Regions from separate parts of the Homo sapiens genome. Here regions 1 and 2 are each linked to region 3. The links are contacts of gene promoters, found by promoter capture Hi-C in human tissues and cell types (Jung and others, 2019). All regions are on one chromosome and are shown on one strand. Each heading gives the region's core, a stretch centred on a gene start or on the middle of the fragment in contact. The rest is flanking DNA. Distances are from core to core; before and after follow the strand shown.

Region 1 (2,768 bases), core at 184-2,683, 180 kb after region 3:
TCAGATGGATACTGTAAAAACGCCACTCTGGCTGGGCTCAGTTTGTTAACTATTGAAACGCTCATGAAGAAATACATGGGGAGTTATTACACTAGTCTCTTCTTTTGTGTGTGTTTGAGATTTTCTTCTTCTTTTTTTTCTTTTAGTTTTTTCAGACAGAGTCTTGCTGTGTTGCCCAGGCTGAAGTGCAATGGCGTGATCTTGGCTCACTGCAACCTCTGCCTCCCCGGTTCAAGTGATTCTCCTGCCTCAGCCTCCCAAGTAGGTGGGATTACAGGCATGCACCACCATCCCTGGATAATTTTTGTACTTTTAGTAGAGACAGGGTTTTGCCATGTTGGCCAGGCTGGTCTTGAACTCCTGATCTCAAGTGATCCACCCACCTTGGCCTCCCAAAGTACTGGGATTACAGGTGTGAGCCACCGCACCTGGCTGGTGTAGTTTGAGTCCACAGGATTTGCTGATGAACAGGGTGCGAGATGGGAGAAAAACAGCTTGAGCTGAGCCCCTGAGTGCAAGGTGGTTCAGGGGCATTTGCAGAGACGGGCCCTGAAGAGGAGCAGATTTGGGAGTGGAAAGAATCACTCTCGGGTCTGGGCTCGTTGCCAGACCTGTGGCCTCCAAGGAGATGTCAGTTTCATGGCTGGGTGAACAAGTCCAGAGTTCAGGGGAGAGCCAAGACTAGAAGTCATCAATTTGGGAGTCACCCACAAATAAACAGTATTTAAAACCACGGGACTAGATGAGATCACCTAGGAAGTGGGTGTACACAGAGAAGGAAGAAGACCCAGGACAGAGCCGGGGGCCTCTCCTAAGCTTAGAGGTAGGAGAAGAGCAAGGAGGAGGCGGTGAAGAAGATGAGGTAGGAAGAAAACTCCAAGGAAGGGAAGTTGCCATCTGGTCCTCAACAGCCCCCACACCCCATCAGCACCAAGGTCACCCCCTCCTCAGCAGCCCCTGACTCTTGACACTCCAGCTCTTGCCAAGTAACTGCAACAGCCTCGGAACTTGCGGTTCACCCAGCTGGCTCTCCCTGCCGCCTTCTGGAGCCATCTTGGTAAAATGCAAATCTGAAGCCACAACTCCCCATTACACATTCAGGGTTAGAAAGCACGTCCATAGACCAGGCGTGGTGGCTCATGCCTGTAATCCCAGCACTTTGGGAGGCCGAGGCAGGCAGATCACCTGAGGTCAAGAGTTTGAGACCAGCCTGGCCAGCGTGGCAAAACCCCATCCCTACTAAAAATACAAAAAAAATTAGCTGGGCGTGGTGGCACATGCCTGTAGTCCCAGCTACTTGGGAGGCTGAGGCAGGAGAATTGCTTGAACCCAGAAGGCAGAGGTTGCAGTGAGCCAAGATTGCACCACTACACTCCAGCCTGGGCAACAGAGTGAGACTCCATCAAGAAAGGAAGGAAGGAAGAAAGGAAGGAAGAAAGGGAGGGAGGGAGGGAAAGGAAAGGAAAGGAAAGGAAAGGAAAGGAAAGAAAGAAAGAAAGAAAGAAAGAAAGAAAGAAAGAAAGAAAGAAAGAAAGAAAGAAGGAAGGAAGGAAAGAAAAGAAAGAAAGAAAAAGAAAAGAAGGAAGGAAGGAAGGAAGGGAGGGAGTCCATAGCCTGGGGACCAAGCTCTCCATGGCCTGGGTCCTGCACACATCAAAATGGACACCTGTAACATTCCCCGCTCATCACACAGGTGCACATGAAGGAACACACGCCCTCACACCCCAGGAGCAGCACAGGAGCCCGCACTGTGGCAGGCCAGGTCTCCCCAACAACTGTTTCAGTACTGACTGAGTGGTTAATTTAAATATTAAAAGCCAGTGCCCTTATACAAAGGCTGGGATGTAACAAAAGCCCACCAAGAGTTTTGCCCAGGCCTTTCCTGGGCCTTAAATCACGACAAAATAATGAAGGAATTCTTAACAGGACCATTTAGAATTAAGCAAGTTTTATTTTGGGTCTGAAGAAACTCCCCAGGCCTCCACAAACAAATTTATTGGCGGTCTGAAGGAACTCCTCAAACCTCCATGATTTAGCAGGAGATAACAGGAATCACCCCAGCACCTGGACCCATTTAGATAAGTAAATTTACTGAGGTTCCAGAGGAAGAGCTTCGGGACTCAGACCTTAGTCATGGATTAAAAGAAATTAATCACTTATGTCTTCAGATGAATGCACACTTACACATAGACGTATAGCTTAGAAGGTGTATAAGCTCTGGAAAACTTTGTAACTTTGAGTTAGTCGGGTGATAATTTCCACGCCTTCTCCCTGTAAACGGTTACAGAAATAAAAACTCTCTTCCTCCCCAGTTTGTGTGCATCTCGTTATTGGGCCACAAGAAGTAGCAGCCCGACCCTCAGTTTGGTCTGGGAACAGTACCACAAGCCATTCTCCCCTCCCTCCTTCCTGGATGGAAAGCTCACACCCCACACCTGAGCCTCAAAGTGCCAGATCACAGTTTCCCAGCTTCTGTGGCTTCTGGAAATACCCTCCTCCCATAGAAAGAAAGAGAAAGGCCAGGTAGGTTCCTCACACATGTAATCCCAGCATTTTGAATGCCAAGGAGGGAGGATGGCTTGAGCCCAGGAATTGGAGACCAGCCTAGGCAACATAGCAAGACCCCATCTCTACAATTTTTTTTTTTTAATTAACCAGGCTTGGTGGCAAGCACCTGGAGTCCCAGCTACCCAGGAGGCTGAGGCAGAAGGATTGCTTGAGCCCAGGACGTAGAGGCTGCAGTGAGCTAGGATTGTATCACTGCACTC
Region 2 (2,700 bases), core at 58-2,557, 230 kb before region 3:
TCTTCTTATTTTTTTAGAAACAGGATTTCACTCTGTCCCCCGGGGCTGGAGTACATTGACTTGATCATGGTTCACTGTGGCTTCAACCTCATGGGCTCAACCGATTCTCCTGCCTCAGCCTCCCGAGTAACTGGGACTACTGTCGCGTACCACCACAACTGGATAATTTAAAAAATTTTTTTTGTAGAGATGGGGTCTCACCATGTTGCCCAGGCTGGTCTCAAACTCCTCGGCTTGAGGGATCCTCCCACCTTAGCCTCCCAAAGTTCTGGGATCATCATTATTGAATATTATGACAATTTGGGCTATGGGAGGAAAGATTGGGTAGAAAAACAGCCCATAAGAATGCTCAAAACCCTTGCAAGGTTGAAGTATTTACTTTTTCTTTTTTGAGACAGGGTCTTGCTGCAGACCAGGTTGGAGTGCAGTGGTGTGATCAGAGATCACTGCAGCCTGCACCTCCTGGGCTCAAGCACTCCTCCGCCTCAGCTTCCTGAGTAGCTGGAACTGCAGGTGCGCGCCACCACGCCCGGCTACTTTTTTAATTTTTATTTTTGTAGAGACGGGGATCTCACTTTGTTGCCCAGGCTGGTCTCGAACTCCTGGGCTTAATCGCTCTTCCGGTCTCTGTCCCCCAAAGTGCTGGGATTAGAGGGGTGAGCCACCGCACCGGCCTTGAGTCCCTATTTTCCTGGAATGAACATTGCATTTCATCTGACAAAAGGACGGTTTCAGTTTCCTCCTCTGCAAAATGGGGTGGGGGTGGAATTCCCATCTTGCAGCCGAGAATTCCCTGATAATAAACGTCGAGTACCGAGCGCGGTTGAGGCGCAGGAGCCTACCCAACGGGAGCAGCTCACTAGGACATTCAGAGCAATCTGGAAAAGTGGGCACGGGCAGCCCCAGACGTCATCCCCGGACCCCGCTGCCCAGCAGCGCCCGGACGCCAGCGTTGTCCGTGTCCCAACACCGAAGCCCGCGTTTGGCCGCAACCCCTCCAGGCCCTGCTCCTCCCACGCCGCCGCGGAGCGGATCTTCCACAGAAACCACACACAAACGTCCGTTCCGAGAGCGACCTGCTTTCTCGGAAGGCGTCGCGGCCACAGCTCGCCTTCCTGTCGCTCCCAGGCCGGGCGCCAGGTCTCCCATAGCAACCGCGGCCTCCAGCGATGGCCGCCAGGGCACCACCGGAACCCTCTTCGCAGGCACAGAGAGGCGCGGGTACGTAACTTCCGCTCGCGCCCGGCGGAAGCCAGGGGGCGGGGCTTGCGTGGCGGCGTCAAGGGGCGGTGCCTCGGGTGGCGGGAAGAGGAGGCGCGAGAATGGAGGTGGAGGCCGTCTGTGGTGGCGCGGGCGAGGTGGAGGCCCAGGACTCTGACCCTGCCCCTGCCTTCAGCAAGGCCCCCGGCAGCGCCGGCCACTACGAACTGCCGTGGTGAGGTCCCAGGCCGTAAAGAATGGGCGCGTTTGGACGTGAGGGTGGGCGAGTGGCGGGCCGTGCTCCGGAGAAACTCGGGGGTCAGGGGCTCGTTTTGGGGAATCCCGAGGGAGGAGGAGGCCCCGGGTGGCATCGAGATGATTTCAAGAAGGCGACGGACATGGATCGAGAGTGGCCGGTCTAAACTCTGCGAGCGGAGTCTCGCTCACTACAATGCTTATGACAATTAGGGCTACCCCGGGTGGCCACCTACTCTGACCTAGTTGGTTTTTTCAAAAGTTTTTGTGTATAGTAGTGTATGACCTAGTGTTTTCAAAAACTTCAATCTTTTAAAAAAAATATCGATTACATGTTGAAAATAATATTTTGACTGTTAGGTTCAATAACATTTACATTTGAAATTTTTTTAAAAAAATCAAGACGGGGGTTTTGCTGTGTTGCCCAGGCTGATGTCCAGCTCCTTGGCTCAAGTGATCCCCCTGCCTCAGCCTCCTAAGTAGATGGGACTACAGGCACGCACCACCATGCCCAGTTAATTTTTTTTTTTTAGATGGAGTCACACTTTGTCACACAGGCTGGAGTGCAGTGGTGTGATTTCTGCTCACTACAACCTGCATCTCCCTGGTTCAATCAATTCTGCCTCAGCCTTCCTAGTAGCTGGGATTACAGGCATGTACCATCACACCCTGCTAATTTTGTGTTTTTAGTAGAGGCTGGGTTTCACCATGTTGGCCAGGCTGGTCTCGAAGTCCTGATCTCAAGTGATCCGTCCGCCTCGCCTTCCCAAAGTGCTGGGATTACAGGCATGAGCCACTGTACCCAGCCTAGGCCTACGGTGTCTAGCCAGCTATGCTGTGTATTTGGCACACGTCTGCAGAAACTGGCAGGTAATCCTTGCCTGGCATGGTGGCTCACGCCAGTAATCCCAGCACTTTGGGAGGCTGAGGTGGGCAGATCACCTGAGGTTGGTAGTGACCCAAGATCGCACCATTGCACTCCAGCCTGGGCAACAAGAGCAAAACTCTGTCTCCAAAAAAAAAAAAAAGAAAAGAAACTGGCAGGTAAGGGATGAGAAAGGAGCTTGGTTGCACCCATGTTGTCACACCAAATGATGTCAGTGCTGTATGTGCTGGGCCTCTTGTGACGGGCGGACAGGGTTGCAGCACAGTGTCACATTGCTCCAGATGACCTGTGCTGGCCGTGCTCCAGCAGCAACAGGTGTTTCTCTGCTGTGGCAGGTTTGAAGCCTATGCTGTACAATT
Region 3 (2,700 bases), core at 196-2,695:
CTGCACAGGAAGCTGTTCAATCTCACGGAAACAGCTGCAGCTCCTGCCCAGGCCCTTGACTCCACCCCGTGGCCCTCCCGCCCCCCACTCAGCGTTTGGTTCTCATGGCAAGGAGGACTCCCGAGGAAACCAGACTCCACCCAGACCCCCCTACCAAATGCCCTCCTTTTTCCCATGCCCGGGAGCCTCTTCTGTCCTCCCCCGTTGGCCGCGGCATAGCAGCCCCACAGGGCACACCCTCAAACCCCATAACCAACTGTGCCTGGGTTGGGGCACATAGCAGATGGCCCAGCAGTGCCCCAGGATCCACTCCAGCCTCTGTCTCAGCCACACTGCCTCTGCCAGGAGACAGACACCTTCTCCAGCCCGCCTTTCCATGCTTGCGTGCCACATCGCACACACATTCACACACACAGATGTACACACTCCATAACACACACAGTGACAGTCCACACCAGTGTCACACCTGGATGCCAGATCGCCCATGTCTACATGTGTACATGTCTACATGTCTGTCAGGTGGCAGACTTTTGCACACACTAAGGAGCAGCTTCATATACCTCCTCCAAACATACGCATACACCTGCCTAAGGATGAACCTGTGAGCAGACATATGTACCCCTCCAGAAATCCCTTTCCCTGTTCAGTGACACAGCCGGGCATCTGAACACATGCACACCTGTGCATGCACACATACACACACGAGCACACAGCACGCTCATTCCTGTGTGCATGCACACACACACACACACACAAATGCATACCAGGAGTCCCTGCCTGCCTCAGCAGGGAGAACACAGCAGCAGCTTCCCAACCTGCAAACCCATCCTCAGCGGAGCCCTGACCTTCCTGACGGGGGGATCCCGGCTTCCCAGGGGTCAAGGAACCTGCTGAGGTCACACAGCTCACTGCGGTTGAGCTGGTATCAAGCCCAGGTTCCCTGTCCCCAGGGCTGGTGTGCACCCCAGCTGTGTCCACAGGTGTGCAGACTGTGGTGTCTCCAGACCCAGGGGTTCCCGCTGGGCCCTCCCCCAGGATGCTCTGATCCCCCTACAGGGCGGGCACCCGGGCACCTGAGCAGGGGCCCCCTCAGCCCTCGCAGGGCAGCAAAGCCTGGATGCTGGGCTGGGACTATTCTGAGTCGAGGGTGTCTCTTTGACAGGTTCCTCCTGGGCACGGGGCTGGCTCCTGGGAGGGGCAGTTCCGAGGACCCAGTGGCTGAGGGGCTCCCACCTGGGACCCCTTGCAGTTCCCAGGGACGAAGGTCTCCCCCTTGAGCGTCTAGTCACCTGGCCCAAAGGGCCCGCAGCTGTGGGCAGCGCTGGGGACAGGGGCGAGGGGTCCTTACCTCCAGGCCGAGAGGGGTGGAGGATGGACAGCAGGAGCAGGAGGACTCCGGGCCGCGGGGCCGCCGCCGTCAGACCCGCCATCTCGGGGAGAAATGCCCCAGCCCGCTCTCCGCACCTCGTTTTATCCCCAAAGCCTAATTGTTGCCTCGTCGGCTGTGAGGGAAAGAGGGAGGGAGAGAGGGCGGGCGGGAGGGCGGGAGAGGGGGGAGGCCTGGGGGAGGGGGCCGCGGGGAGGGGACAATTACGAAAGGCCCGGCTCACAAGCCTCCCAGGCCCGGGCTGCTGGACTGCGAGCTTTTTTCCTTGACACACACACGCACACACATGCACACAAGCACACACTCACACACACACACTTTCCCCCATCTCTTTCCCGCTTTCCCTCTGCGACTGTTCTTTCGCTGCTGGCCCTGTTCCCGCCAGAAAGAGCGAGGGGGGCCTCTGCCAGGACAGCCCTCGGGAGAGGAAGCAGAAGGGAGGGCCTGGCGGCCAGGCCAAAAATCCCAGCCCCAGCCAAGGCCCGAGTGGCCAGGCCCCCGCCCCTCCGGCTGGGCCCCGGGCCCAGTGTGAGGATACGGGCCAGCTGTCCCGCGCCTCAGCCCCCACCCCGGCCCTCCAGACTCCCCAACACCCCCAGGTCTGGCTAGAGACAGGTTCTGCCCAAAGCTGGGGAGGGGAGGCATTGGGCAGGTCTGGGGGTTTGGGGGGTGCGATGTCTACAGAGGCCGGGGGGCTGCAGGTTGAATGGCCTGGAAGGTAGGCCCGGGTTGGTATTGCTCTGGGAGGGATCTGGGGGGAAGGTAGGGGACCCTGGACAGGGCTGCATTCTGCAGGGGCCAAGGTCTCTGCCTAGCGCCTGAAGCTGGGGAGGAGGTGTTGGGTGGGTCTGGGGTGGATGCCTGCAGATGCCAGGGGGTTAGAGGCAGGGGAATGGCTTGGGAGTTAAGGCCATGTTGGTGCTGTCCCCAGGGGCATCTGGAGCACATGGAGGATCCCGACACACAGGGTTCTATTCTGCATGGGTCAAGGTCACAGCCCTATACCCAGCCCCATGCAGGCCGCAGGGTCTGGTAAAAATCAGGCTGGATCCCCAGGTGCCCTGTGGGGGAACAGGGAGGTGGGAGCCCCCCGCAGACTGACAGGCAGCCCAGCTTCCCATTATCACTGGGTCACCTCCCATCCCCACGCTGAGCACAGCTAGCGCCCACACCAGTCTGGGAGCTTCTCGACTGCTGTTCTCCCGGCCCCTCTGGGAAGGCTGACATTCCGCTGGTGGCCAGGAGGGGGCGGCCTGCACTGAAACAGCTGGGACCACGTTCCTGGAGAACTCTGCATTTCTGCCCCCAGGACT

What was found. The method cuts DNA at HindIII sites, captures the fragments that hold promoters and counts their contacts. A contact is called where the count stands out against the background at its distance.
Region 1: a contact is called between a fragment that was not itself captured here and the fragment with the promoter of ELN in region 3, in 2 of the 25 tissues and cell types used here (aorta and pancreas).
Region 2: a contact is called between the fragment with the promoter of RFC2 here and the fragment with the promoter of ELN in region 3, in 1 of the 25 tissues and cell types used here (small bowel).

The regions. Positions count from the first base shown.
Region 1 is chr7:73,847,495-73,850,262 of GRCh38, reverse strand. No RefSeq gene overlaps it. Among named protein-coding and RNA genes, the nearest start is that of METTL27, 6.4 kb to the right of the region's middle. The HindIII fragment of the contact is 7,829 bases long and covers 1-2,768 here.
Region 2 is chr7:74,253,006-74,255,705 of GRCh38, reverse strand. It overlaps RFC2 (replication factor C subunit 2), which reads left to right and starts at 1,307. Exons shown (of 11, transcript NM_181471.3): 1 at 1,307-1,435. The coding sequence starts at 1,323. RefSeq lists enhancers at 914-993, 467-1,069, 1,404-1,633, 1,070-1,672, 1,673-2,275 and 1 more and a silencer at 1,234-1,353. The HindIII fragment of the contact is 19,783 bases long and covers 1-2,700 here.
Region 3 is chr7:74,026,918-74,029,617 of GRCh38, reverse strand. It overlaps ELN (elastin), which reads right to left and starts at 1,445. Exons shown (of 33, transcript NM_000501.4): 1 at 1,349-1,445. The coding sequence starts at 1,430. RefSeq lists enhancers at 118-1,089, 2,062-2,700. The HindIII fragment of the contact is 22,090 bases long and covers 1-2,700 here.